Linked DNA regions of Homo sapiens: region 2 is linked to region 1. Evidence: promoter capture Hi-C in human tissues and cell types (Jung and others, 2019). All regions are on one chromosome and are shown on one strand. Each heading gives the region's core, a stretch centred on a gene start or on the middle of the fragment in contact. The rest is flanking DNA. Distances are from core to core; before and after follow the strand shown. Region 1 holds the start of BRD7 (bromodomain containing 7). Region 2 overlaps LOC105371259 (a long non-coding RNA gene).

The links. Contacts are between HindIII fragments. The study calls those that stand out against the background at their distance.
Region 2: a contact is called between a fragment that was not itself captured here and the fragment with the promoter of BRD7 in region 1, in 1 of the 25 tissues and cell types used here (dorsolateral prefrontal cortex).

What each region holds. Positions count from the first base shown.
Region 1 is chr16:50,364,999-50,371,693 of GRCh38, reverse strand. BRD7 (bromodomain containing 7) reads left to right here and starts at 2,706. Exons shown (of 17, transcript NM_013263.5): 1 at 2,706-2,968; 2 at 3,396-3,604. The coding sequence starts at 2,920. RefSeq lists silencers at 2,528-2,777, 2,808-3,317. The HindIII fragment of the contact is 10,865 bases long and covers 1,502-6,695 here.
Region 2 is chr16:51,985,138-51,991,914 of GRCh38, reverse strand. It overlaps LOC105371259 (a long non-coding RNA gene), which reads left to right. Exons shown (of 3, transcript XR_933563.3): 2 at 4,741-4,801; 3 at 5,664-6,516. Among named protein-coding and RNA genes, the nearest start is that of LINC02911, 89 kb to the left of the region's middle. The HindIII fragment of the contact is 5,234 bases long and covers 968-6,201 here.

The DNA.
Region 1 (6,695 bases), core at 1,457-3,956:
GACATTCACAAATATTTAAAAGTTAGTATTAGCAGCTGATATTTATTGACCATTTACTATCTACCATATCAGGCATTACTCTCGGCACTCTGACCACATTATCTTCTTTGATCCTTACAACCACCCTGTTGCAGCAGCACACCCAATGACCTCACCCTGGTTCCAAGGTTCAGAGGTAGGCAGCCCTCTCAGGACATGCCAAAGTCACAGACCCTGTAAGCATCTGTGACCCCAGGACTCAAGTCAGCTCTGTCTCACTCACTCAAGAGCTGTTGGGCTGTTGGGGGAGAAGTCTGGGCACAGCTTAACTGGGGCCTCTGCTTCTGGGACTCTCACAGGGCTGTGATCAGGATGTCAGCCAGGGCTGAGGTCTCATCTGAATGTTCCACTGAGGAAGGATCCACTTTGAAGCTCACACAGTTGCTGGCAGGATTCAATCCTTCAAGGCTGTTGGACTGATAGCCTCAGTTGTAGCCGGATGTCAACTGGGGCCCAGCCTCAGGTCTTTGTCACATGGGCTTCTCCAGCATGGCAGCTTACTTCATCAAAACATGCAAGCCAAGAAGGCAAGAGAGACGGTCAGCAAGTAAGACTGAAGTCTTATGTATCCTCAACACAGGAGTGACGTCCATCATCTTTGCCATATTCTATTGCTCTGAAGCCAGTCTCCAGGCCATTCTACACTCACTGGGAGGTCATGAATGGCAGCAGGCAGAAATCTCTCAGGGGAGTCTGCCCGAACCAGGACCGTGCAGCTCAACTAGCATTTTCTGGTGCCTTCTATGTGCCAGGCATGGTATTAGTGCTGAGAATTTAAAACTAGATGAATTTGGGCTTCCACTTCCAGGAACATTTTTCTGGGAGGTGTTTTCTGCTACGTACTCTTATTCACTTTCCATTGATGTGACCACTTTGTGACCTATGTAGAATCACTCTTGAGAGGGTAGGGAAATTACTAACTTGATAGTATGGATGAGTTCACCAGACCTTTTTCCTCTGAGGGGCATTTGGACAGTAGTAGTCACTGTGCTAGGCACTGTAAGTACCAAGGAGGTACCCAGGGTAATGAGGAGCAGACAGGTAAACCCACAGGTTGAGCCTGGAGCAAGGCAATGCCACAATAGAGGCCAGACCCACAGTGGGAGTTGGCATAGTGGTTCTTAAAGCAAAATAAGTTACAGACAGTGGATGAAAAGCTGAAACCAAGCTTTGCCCTATGCTTAGGGGGCCTAGGGGGCCTAGCTGGCTTGATTTCAGAGCAGCAGAAGGTCTCTTCCCCAACACAACCCCTCTTCCCACACCCTGATCTCTGCCTCACGGACACCAGAGAGGCTTGTTACAGGGAAATAATAGACACACACTTTTAGCTTTCATGAAAAAGCAACTCTCTTCATTAGAAGAACCTCATCTTCCCTGGCTAACCATAGAAGTCTGGCAGGAGCTGCCAATCACAGACTCCACTTCTCTTGGCCAAGGGGGTGAGGGGGTAGATTTGGCATCCAGGCCGAATCAATCTCCCATCCCCTGTCCCATAAAACATGTGACACAAGCCAAGCCAATCAGAGTCCTTCCCTGGGACTGTTTTCCAGGTGAAGCTGACAGGAAGAGATCTTTTTCCCAGTTGGTCAGGACACTATAAAGAAGAGGCCTCAGAAGCAGATGGTGGCCATGTTTCCAGCCATATAGGAAAGAAGGGGGGAGATGGAGACCGATATACAGAGAGACAAGAGAGAGAGCGAGCTGGCATGCCAGTCAACAGCATTACATCCTTGGTTCCTGTCTTCCCTCTGGCAAGCTTTATTCTTGCCCTTTCTAGACATGTAAACCAATAAATCCCTTTTTATTTACTTGAAATAATTCAAATTGGTTTCTATTAGTTGCCAACAATAGGGTCCTAAAATATAAGCCTATAATTTCACCACTGAAGTTCAAGGTAAAGCTACAAATCTTCCTGGGAGAGGTGATTCATGGGTCTAAATTGTTACTAAAGTATAAATGACTGATAACAGATCCTTTCTTAAGAGGAGACTATAATTACGAGCTTATCTGAAAACAGACAAAGCACCATACAGCTAGAAGTAAAGACAGTCAAAACGTCTGGTAACCTTCACCTATCAGCACATAAGTTTTTTTTAAGATTAGAATCTTCAGTCACCAATGTGCTGAGTTTGCTGGGTCTGGCACCCAGTATGGGGTTCAGTCAATATCGTAAAAGGGAAGAAACAGAAGCAAGGGAAAGTGGAAAGAAAGGAAGAGTGGGGGAAGGAGGAAGGGGAAAAAAAGAAAAGAAAAAAAGAGGGAAGGAGACGGGAAGAGGAGAAGGAAGGGTGATGAGGGAGGAAGAAAAGAGAGAAGGAAGGCTTGAAGGGAGGCAGTAAGGAGGGAAGAAAGAAAGGAAGGAAGGAGGAAGGAAGGGAAGAAGGGAAAGAGAAAGAAAGAGAGGGAGGGAGTAAAAAGAAGGGAGGGAAGTGGAGACGGAGGGAGAGACACACAGAGACAGAGACAAGACAGACAAATTGAGGGGAAAGGGAGGAAGGAAGAAAGACGAGAGTCTGAGCGGTGGATCCCGCCCCGGCCCCGCCCTCGGCCCCGCCCCCGGCCCGCGAGCTGCAGCACCACCTCCGGTCGCCAGGGGCCGCCACCCGCAGCCGCCGGCACCCTGTGCGCGCGGCGGGCCTTCTTTCCCGCCTCTGCGCCGGCCGCGCGCCCCCCCCGCCGCCGCTCTCGGGCTCCGGCCGGGTCTCGCGCGCCGTCTTCTCGAGAGGGGCATCGCGCCGCCCGGCGCGCGCCGCCCCCCTGCCTCGCGGCGCGGGGTCTCGCGGGCCCCGCTCCCGCCCTCCGCTCGCCTGGCCCGGACCGGAAGCGGCGCCGCACGGCCTGGGCCTGGCGCGGGGGGCGGGCACCGGGGCCCGGTCGGACATGGGCAAGAAGCACAAGAAGCACAAGTCGGACAAACACCTCTACGAGGGTGAGGAGGGGGCCGGGGTGCGGGCGGCGGGCCCTCGGCGGCTCTGCCGGGCTTCCGCTCTTTCCCAGTGGCTCCGGGGCGGCCCGGGGCCCTTCCTTCCCACGGCAGGCCCAGGCCGGCGAAGGGGGCGCGTCCTGCCGGAGGCCGCGCTGCCCCCCGTGCGGCCGCGGCATTCGAACCCGGGTCCCCCTGGTCCGGTGGGTCTCTGGTGGGGAGACGTGAGGCGGGCCCGGGAGGCCTGGGAGCGTTCGGGGCGGGCGGCGCCGCCGCACCCCCGGGCCGGGGTCCGTCATTCAACAGGTGCTTCGCGGAGCGCCCAAAGCCGCCTCGGGCTTGCTGCGCCTTGGCGCTCTGCATCCTTAGCACTCCCTGGAGAGCCCCGATTTTAATCGACGCGCTTTCCTTTCTTTTCTTTTCTTTTTTTAAGAGTATGTAGAGAAGCCCTTGAAGCTGGTCCTCAAAGTAGGAGGGAACGAAGTCACCGAACTCTCCACGGGCAGCTCGGGGCACGACTCCAGCCTCTTCGAAGACAAAAACGATCATGACAAACACAAGGACAGAAAGCGGAAAAAGAGAAAGAAAGGAGAGAAGCAGATTCCAGGGGAAGAAAAGGGGAGAAAACGGAGAAGAGTTAAGGTACAAGTGGTTACATTGCTTTGGCTTTGCGGACGGCACTGCCTCTTCCAGGTGCCAACCTCATTTTATTTTCTTTGTATCTGGGGAAAACAAACGCCTCTAAGATCTGGCTCGTTTGAGGAGGAGCAGGACAGAATAGAGACATGAATCATCTATGAGTTTCAGCAAGTCGTTTTTGGATTATACTCTTAGGCAATTGTACTCGCACATCAGGTGAGGAAGCAGCTAAGTCCAAATTTTGAGGAGCTGCTTCAAAGAATGGTTTTTCCATCTAGGCAGGGTAAAAAGTCATGCTCAAGAAAGCCTCAGTGTTCAAGGATTGTCAAAAATAGTCATTTCAGAAGCGAGTGGGATCTACTGGGGTTTAAAGTTTGTTCTGAAATAAATATTATAATGCCAAATCTGTAATGAGCAACTTTAAATCTTTTAAAACAGTGTTGTAGTGTGTTGAGAAAATTTGGTCAGAAACCTGTAATGGAGATTGATATTCTTAACCATTTGCATTTAACAGAAAAGAATGAGTAGCTACCATCTTGGTTTGAAAGCTGGGCAAAATAATAATTAATGGCTGGGCCCAGTAGCCCACACTTGTAATCCCAACACTTTGGAATGCCGAGGTGGGAGGATTGCTTGAGGCTGGAAGTTCGAGACCAGCCTGGGCAACATAGCAAGGCCCTGCCTCTGCAAAATAAACTACAAAAATTTCCAGAGCCTGGTGGTGTGCACCTGTGTCCCAGCTATTCAGGAGGCTGAGGTGGGAGGATCCCTTGAGCCCAGGAGTTTGAGGTACAGTGAGGTATGATCATACCACTGCACTCCAGCCTGGGCAATAATACGAGACTCTGTCTCTAATAATAATAACATTGTTATTACTGTTATTAACTTTCCAAATTTAACCTGCCACTGAACGACTTATTACATCAATTATTGTGAAGGTAAATTTTCATAGGTTAGTTATGTAATTTTTCTTATGTTTATATATACAAGAGGAGCTTTCTCTTCCATGTGATTGAACACATTGCTAAGTCACCAAGTCTTAGAGATCTTATTTTGGGGATTTCTTAAGTCTATTCCTTCCCTTTTGTCCCAGTTTTTATTACCTTTGGCTAGGTAGGAGTAATGTTTTGTTTTCTTCCTTAAATTATAAAACCCATATATGCATTTGATTTTTTAAAAGTAGTTCATGTGGTGCAAAAGTACACAAAATGGAAAAAGTTTTCCTCACCCCAATCCTTCACATAGACTCCCTCTTCAGAGGTAACCAGTTGTTTTTTTTAATTAATAGTAGTAAAGTAATTCGTGAAGATGATTTTTAAAAGTCAAGAGTACTACACAGCTTTTTGACACAAAGCAGGCTGCTGCTCCACTCTGGACACTTTTTAGGTATTTTTCCTTGCCTACTTATTTCTATTTCAAAATAAAGGTTTATATTGCTATTTACTGATTTAGCAGTTTATATCTTCTACTGACATCATGTTATGGAAGATGAGAATTCAGTTTCCCTTGCTCAAGGTATAGGTACATCACAATTATTGGTTAAATCAATATTAAAGTGATTGTAGACAAGTATAGTATGCAAATATAGATCTGATCTTAACTAGTTAGATCATTGCTTTCATTTGTTTGGTTATTGCTTAATAATTCTTCCCAAACTCTAAGATTTATGAAACTCATTTGAGTTCTTTACTTCCTTTTTTATTTTCCTCTGGAGACATTTATCTTACAGCTTTCTGTCTCCTGGAGGCTGAATTAGTTGCTGTCAAGGCCTCCTGGGACTCTCCTTCACCTGCTTCCTGGATCTCATGCCTTCCTCTTTCTTGATTCATTCCCTTGTTCTGGTGGACTCTTAACTCTAGGAACGTCCTAAGAAAGCATACACGGGGTAGATTTTATAAGTTCTAACATGTTTGAAAATCTGTATTCTGCCCTCATACAGGTTGATGGTTTGACTTGTTTAGATTGAAAATTATTTTCTTTCAGACTTTTGAAGGCATTGCTTTGTTGTTTTCTGGCTTCTAAATTTGCTGTTGAGAAGTCTGTTGCCATTCTGATTCTTAGTCCTTTGCATATGACCAGTATTTGCTAACTTGAAATTTTTAGGATCTTCCCCCCTTATCTTCAGTGTTCTGACATTTCACAATGAATACTTGTGCCTTCAGTTCAGAGCTGTGTGCTTGAAGTATTCCTGTGTTCATTTCTTTCCCTCCATTTTTTCTTTTCTTGGTTTCTGGAACTCCTGCCCTTTAGATATTAGACTCCTGAACTGATCCTCTAATTTTCTTATGTTTTTCTCATATTTTTTCTGGGTGTGTGTGGGGTGGGGGAGGGTTCTTCCTTCAGGGAACATCCCTAAAATTTCTGACTTTTCCAGATTTATTTCAGATCTTATACCTTGAATTTCCAAGAATTTTTTCTTGTTCTCTAACTGTCCTTTTTGAATTAGCACCCTGTTCTTGGTTTTAGATGCAGTATATTCTTTTCTTTCTCTGAGGATATTAATCGAAGTTTTTTCCTGTTTTTTTCTCCTAAGTTTTCTTTTGCTCCCTGCCCTGTCTCTCTCTCCCAAATTCTTCCATTTATTTGTCTGTCTCTGTTTTCTGTTGAAAGCATCCTTTAGTTGTCTGTTGAGCTTTTGCAGTTTGTACAAAGCTGAGTAAATGCTTTGTACCTAGACAGAGTTTGTCAGTTGATGGACTTTATTGTAGAGTGACTAACAGGGACTCAGTCATTTTGGTGAAGAATGCCCCAATGTCTGTACCTTACAGATGTTTTCTCTGGGATTTTTAGTTTCTCCAGAGAAAAATCCTCCTCTCCTAGGAGATGGATTTTGCCAGTTTTATCCGTGTTTCTGGAGCCAACTATGGGGCAGGGGCTGAAGGTCTTACCACCCAGTTTTCTGAGTCTGGCATTTCTCCTTATTTTGGCTCGTCTCGAGATTTGGAGACTCTCAGGTTCCCTGCCTCCTCCAGTTCTGAGCTTTTCCAGGGTTCTGGAATTTAGGCTTTTTTCAAAGGTGTCCACCTCTCTGCATACGGGAGTATCTTGCTTTCTCTGTTCTGCAAATCACCCCATTTGCCTTCCGTCTCCCAAG
Region 2 (6,777 bases), core at 2,335-4,834, 1.6 Mb before region 1:
ATGGTTGAGGAACACTGTAATGGAATATGAGCTCTCATAGGGTGAGAACTTTTAATATGAACTCTTACAGGGTGAGCCTGCATTGGAATGTGAGCTCTCATAGGGTGAAGACTTGGTCCTTCTTGTCTACTCCAGCACCTAGGACAATAGTTGGCACACAGCAGAGACTCAGTAGACATTTGTTGAATGAATGAATGAATGAATGAATGGCTATTCATTCTAAGGTTGACTGCCTTCCTGCTTCTAACCTGGAAGCTAGGCTCTTGTGCCTTCTGTCCTTGAATTCCCTACAGCTAGAAAGGATCTGAGAAGGGGTGGGAGGGGATGAGTTTAGAGCACAGGGCTGATCTTCGTCAGAGTCCATATTGCCTTCTCAAAACTTTCTTCATCTCCAACTCCCCACTCGGGCCAAAGCATCATTAGCTAATCTGCAGGCATGGCTAACAGAAAGAGGTGTTTAATTCTTCCCCATTTGTAGTCTAAAATCTTTCCATTCCATGCACAAACCCACTCTGATCACATAGGGTAGGACTTTTGAAACTTAAAAGCTAAGTATTGATTCAGGTTTTTATCTCTGTCATGCATTCTCTTCCTTGGAGCAATAAATGGCAGACCATCTTGGCTTCTCTGTGTTTTTCAGAAAAGGAGTCAGGAAAAGACCCTAAAATTATGCAAAAAAATCAAGGAATTCTTTAACCACTCTGACTTTAGCCATTCCTCATGACCTCAGGATCAGGCAAAAACTTGCAATGTTCTAGAAATAGTATACTATCATCTTAGAATGTTTTAGTTTTGCAGAACTCTATGTTTGTTTTATGTATATATGTCAATGTTAAAAGAATTATTTTAACAAATTGGCTCTTGTGATTCTGGGGGTCTGGCAATTCCAAAATGTGCTGAGCACAATACATAATTGCAAAGATGTGGAACTAACCTATGTGCCCATCAACTAAAGGGTGGATAAAGAAAATGTGGCACATATACACCATGGAATACTACTCAGCCATCAAAAGGAATGAAATAATGTCTTTTGCAGCAACTTGGATGAAGCCAGAGGCCATTATTCTAAGTGAAGTAACACAGGAGTGGAAAACCAAAAACTGAATGTTCTCAATTATAAGTGGGAGCTAAGCTATTACTATGAGTATGCAAAGGCATACAGAGTCATAAATGGACTTTAGAAACTCAGGAGATGGAGGGTAGGAGGGAGACTAGGGACACTAAACTACACATTGGGTGCAATGTGCACTACTCAGGTGATAGTTGCACTCAAATCTCAGAATTCACCAGTATATAATTTATCCACGTTACATAAAACCACTTGTACCCTAAAAGCTATTATAAAAAAGAAATCTACTGAGCGAGCTGGCAGGCTGGAAACTCAAGCAAGAATTAAAGCCAGAGTCTTGAGGCACAACTTCGTTTTTGGAAAACCTCAGTTTTTGCTCTTTAGGCCACCAACCGATTGGGTGATGCTGACCCACATTATGGAAGGTCATCTCCATTATTTAGAGTCAGCTAGTTGGAGATGTTAACCACATCTACACAACACCTTCACGGGAACACCCAGATTATTGTTTGGTTAAATACTTAGGTCCTATAGCCTAGCTACGTTGGCACATAAAACTAACCGTCGCATTTGGGAACTGGGAGATTCAGAGTCTAAACTGTGCTCACTGCCTATCTCTTTGTTCGAGGCTAGTAGCATCACCTTTCAATAGAAGGGCCAGCAAAACATGTGTGCCTAGAGGTTCTTTTGCTATATACACGATAAAGCTGCCAGGTAACCTAAGTTAGCAGAAGGACCTAAGCCAGTCCACGGATGCCTTAGGGGAGGAATGAAGCAGGTCCCAGCATGACTTTGGAGTTTGGAGTTTTTGTAACCCAGAAAGCACCTTGCCATTTGCCTCCCATAAAGGAATGACTAGGCCCAAGTCTGCACAAACCAATTTCAGCCTGACCCTGATTAAAATTTCCTTCTAGCAAATCTGAGAAACAGCTGTTTCTCCGCACGATACCCCCAGCACACCCCAGCCACCCTGTCATCCCCGGAGGCTATTCCTCAGAAGCCAGCTGTTGTGAGTGAGAAGATGAAAGGTGTCAGTCCCACTTGTAGTGCTTGTAACTTAGGGGAGGCAACAAGATTCTTCCTTTGTTTTATCCTTTCAAGTTTAACAGTTAGTCATTATGACTGGGGGAAAGAGTTATCATTTCCAGTTTCTGCTGGATGCAGTGAAGCAATTCATCAATCTCCTTAGAAAAAAATATGTGCTCCAACCAGGGTTGGTTTTCTTTGTACCACATTGTTTTTTGTTGTAGCAAGAAAGCACAGTCATTTAACAGGTTAAGTTCTGGAAGGGCAGGAGTTTCAGTTTCATTGAGTCTCCAATTTAAAGATGGTGGAGTTGAATAAAAAGAAGAAAATATTTCTGTTGTTTTAGTTACAGAAGAAAAGGTGGCTTGGATTTGTAAATGAAAGTTCTAGAGGCTTTCATTACCTTTGTTTCAGACCTTCCTCTCTCATTCAGAACATCTTCTTTTCCTTTTCTTCTGGGGGTAGGTGGGGAGGAAGTCTTGCTCTGTTGCCCAGGCTGGAGTGAACTAGCACCATCATAAGTCACTGCAACCTTGAGCTCCTGAGCTCAAGAGATCCTCCTGCTTCAGTTTCCCAAGTAGCTGGGATCACAAGTACACCACAATGCCTGTTTATTATTATTATTGTTGTTGTTGTTGTTGTTGTTGTTGTTGTTGTAGAGATGAGATTTTGCCATGTTGTCCAGGCTGGTATAAAACTCCTGGACTTTAGTGATCCTTATTCCTCAGCCTCTTGAGTAAGGGTGTCTTTGTTTAGTTCATCCAGGTGGGTTCAATATAAGGAGAAGCCTCCAAAACTTGTATTTTATGCCATGATTTATATCAATCTAAATTCTAAATGCATTTTCTTCCTTCATAGTGATTAATACATGTGGATTGATGTACCATTTATTAGCCACCAATTATCTCATTTTGAGAAAATGAGAGCTAGGAAATTTGACTGTCTTGGCCAGCTTTACCAACCAGTAGATGGTGGAGACAGATTCAAACCCCACAGCACAGCAATCCACATGGCTTCCAAAGTCCAAACTTAAGCACAATCTTGGGAAGACATTCTCAGGAATGCATCGTTTGTAAAAAGGCAGAAATTTTAAGAACTAAAGATTCAAATAGATTTAAAATGATAGCAAACACATATGTGTGTGTGTATATATATAGAGAGAGAGACAGAGAGAGAGAGAAGAAAACTTGTGAACTGATTAACTAATTTATACTAGAGTGTAAATGATTTGGTGTACTTTTGCTCCCAGAGAAAAGTTTCTTTAAAAACATTTGTTTAAATATGACTGGAAGGGCAGTATTTAGCCTGAGGAGATGCATGGCAAATGCTATAATTTATATATAACACGTACCTTACAATATAATACAGTGGCAGGTTCTTGAGAAGGACAATTTATCTCACACAAAAGGTATTACTTTTCCCATATTAAAGTCTTCAAATCACATAAAGGTTATATTTTAATATACATATTTGACAGCAAATTCTTTCAAGTTTTTATATCATGACAAATTTGGAAATACTATATTGATTCATTTATTTAATAAGCACATTTTGAGACTTATTATTGAATCAGACAATATCCTAGAAACTGAGAGAATGAAAAATCACTAAACCAAGCATTGCTTCCAAAAGAATATAGCATGGAAGAGCCTAGAGAAATTTCAGAGTTATTGGAATCCAGAGATGGGACACACTTCTTCGGACTCTGGTCTGAGGCTGTCATAGGGAAGAGAACACCTGAGTTTGGCTTGAAATATGAAGTCTACCATGTGGAGGGAGGGAGAGAAGGGCGCTCTAGGAATGGCCTGTGGGGAGGGACATTGATTAGAAAATTTCATGCTGCAGGAGATTGCCAAAACAATATGTTGCATGTTCAGCAATCTTACTGAGCACCTACTTTATACCTTGCATAGTGTTAGGCTCTAGGAATACAAAGGTCCTTCAAAGCCTCTAGGAATATAGAGACCCTACCACATGAAGACAGAATCAAGGAATGCTGGGACTTTGAGAGATCTCAGCAATGATTGGGTCCAATACTTTGCCAAGTCCTAGAAGTTATAAGGAGATGCTTCCCAGGCCCCTAATGAGACAAGAGGACACCGGACATGAGAGTGTATCAGTCAGCTTAAGCCAAGTTATACTGCAGTAACAAATGGCACCAAATCTTAATGACCTGCAAAATTAAAGATGCATTTTTCATTCATATGACATGACTATCATAAAGCAGCTCTGATTTTGTTTCCTATCTTCTTCATTCTAATTCTACTGAAAAAGAAGCTCTTTTCTGTGACATACTGGTCCCCCTTCAGAAGGAAAATAGAAGAGTGGTGGACCATGGCTTTCAAAGCTTCTGTTTAACAATAGCACCCATCACTTCTAGCTACATTCACTGGGCAAGAGTGAGTCACATGGCCAAGCCTGATGTCAGTGCAACAAAGAGACATCTTCTTTCTCCATGACCAAAAAATATTTTGAGCAGTGATGCAACTTTCATTATGGAGTTTAGGAATTCCTTATTCTGTCTTCATCTTGTACAGCTACATGATGAACCGTTTTATATATTGGATTCATGTGCAACGTTTTCTGGAAGGATAGGTGGCAAAGAATGCTAGACATCCACTAAAATCTGTTCTTCCCTTCCACAGTGTAGTCATGTCACACCCTGCACCTGGGTGTGGCTGTGTGTCCAGTTCTCACCAACTGAATGTAAGTAAAAATGATTTGTATAGATCTTGGGCCATGATTTTCAAGAAGCAGGTGTTCATTTCCTCTACCATACCTCTTCTGTGAGAGCAGCAAGAGGTAGACGATGGCAAGGCCATGGGAGCCAACATAATCACAGGAGAGTAGATCTTGGAATCACAGGGTGGAGGAAAGCTCCAGCTGTCACACCCTGGACTGTTCTGTGACGGAGAGTGAAACTTCTGTTCATTTGTTTATTTTTTAAGCCACATGCATTTTAAAGTCTATTTATGATAGCTGTTTACACTCTAGATGTGCATATAAAAATAAATTTGGTCATCTAATCTCTCCTTGTTTGGAGAAGTTAAGGAGATGATCAGGGAGGAGTACAAGTTGTCCACATTTTTACAGAGGAGAATGCCCACCCCAGCCTCTGGATTCACAGGCCAAGACTTCTGCTACTACATCTGGTTGATACCCCAAGAGCTGAACAATATGATGAAAATTCAGGATCTAAATTGCTGATTCATACCCTGAATCTGGACCAAAAATGTATCCCCTGTTTCCTGCACAGGGTTTTAAAAGAGTATGTATGAATTGTGCATGTAAATATATTAGGCTATTTCACAAGAATAGTTAGGTTCCAGCTTCTTTTGAAAAAAACAGCAGGCAACACTGAGTCCATATTCCCATGAGGGGATGATTAGCTCTAGCTCCTCCTTATTTAGATGAGACCTATGCTGTTCAGTTCACCAGGGTCTTCTCTTCACCCTGGTGGTTTTCTGCCATCGAGGCATAGAATTAGTTGTCATTTGTAATTCTTTCATGGCCCAATAGTAAAGAGGAATATAAATTTTTCTTTTTCCCTTGTCCCTATAACATACAGAATAATGAACCAACAAGAGCGAAGAACAAGTCAAAGAAAATGGCAAAGAAGATATTTCTTTGGGAAAGTGAAGAATCATCCCTCAGCCATCCCACTTCTCTTATTTATGTCACCTGTCTAAGCCTCCAAAAGTATGTGCATTTTGGACTCCTGGCCTAAGGATTCATGTGGATAAATGACTAACAAATGGGCGGAGGTCCCCATAAAAGCACTTTTCTTTTCTGGAGGCTATTCCTGATTGGAGTCAGGAGTTCTATCCTGAGTTAGAGGTGCCTTACTCAGACTCTTGCTTGCGTGAGTGTGGTATGATCCATTCCTTCAGGTTGGCCTCTCGGATGGGTGCCTACTGTGGCCATGCCACCATGCCAGAGGACTGGGTGGGCATGGGCATGAGGGTGCAACAGTGACTGAGGTCTCTACTCTCCAGAGGCAAAAAATAAACCTCAAGGAAGGCTTGAGCCACCAGGGGTCTGACTAAATAGTGATCCTATCAGCCTTATTTTTTTAATTTTTAGTTGACATGTAGTAATTGTACATATTTATGGGATACAGAATAGTATTTCAACACATGTAAACAATGTGTAGTATTCAAATCAGGGTAATTAGTGTATTTCTCACCTGAAACATTTATTATTTTTTTCTGTTCAGTACCTTCAAAATCCTTCCTTCTGGCTACTGGAAAACATAAAGTAAATTGTTAACTATAGTCATCCTACAATGCTATAGAACATTATAACTTATTCCTCCTGCCTTGCTGTCATTTTTTATCAGTTAACCAACATCTACTGTCTCCCCGCCTCCTTTCCCCATGCTCCTGTGACCACTATTCTACTCTCTGCTTCTATGAGATCAACTTTTTTAGCTCCCACATATGGGTGAGAACAGGCAGTGTTTGTCTTTCTGTGCCTGGTTTATTTTACTTACCATAATGCCCTCCAGCCTCATCCATATTGCTGAGAATGACAGGATTTCATTCTTTTTATGGCTGCATAACATTCAACAGTGCATATGCCACATTTTCTTCATTCATTCATCTGTTGATGGGCACTTAAGTTGATTCCATATCTTGGCTATCGTGAATAGTTCTGCAATAAACATGAAAGTGTAGATATCT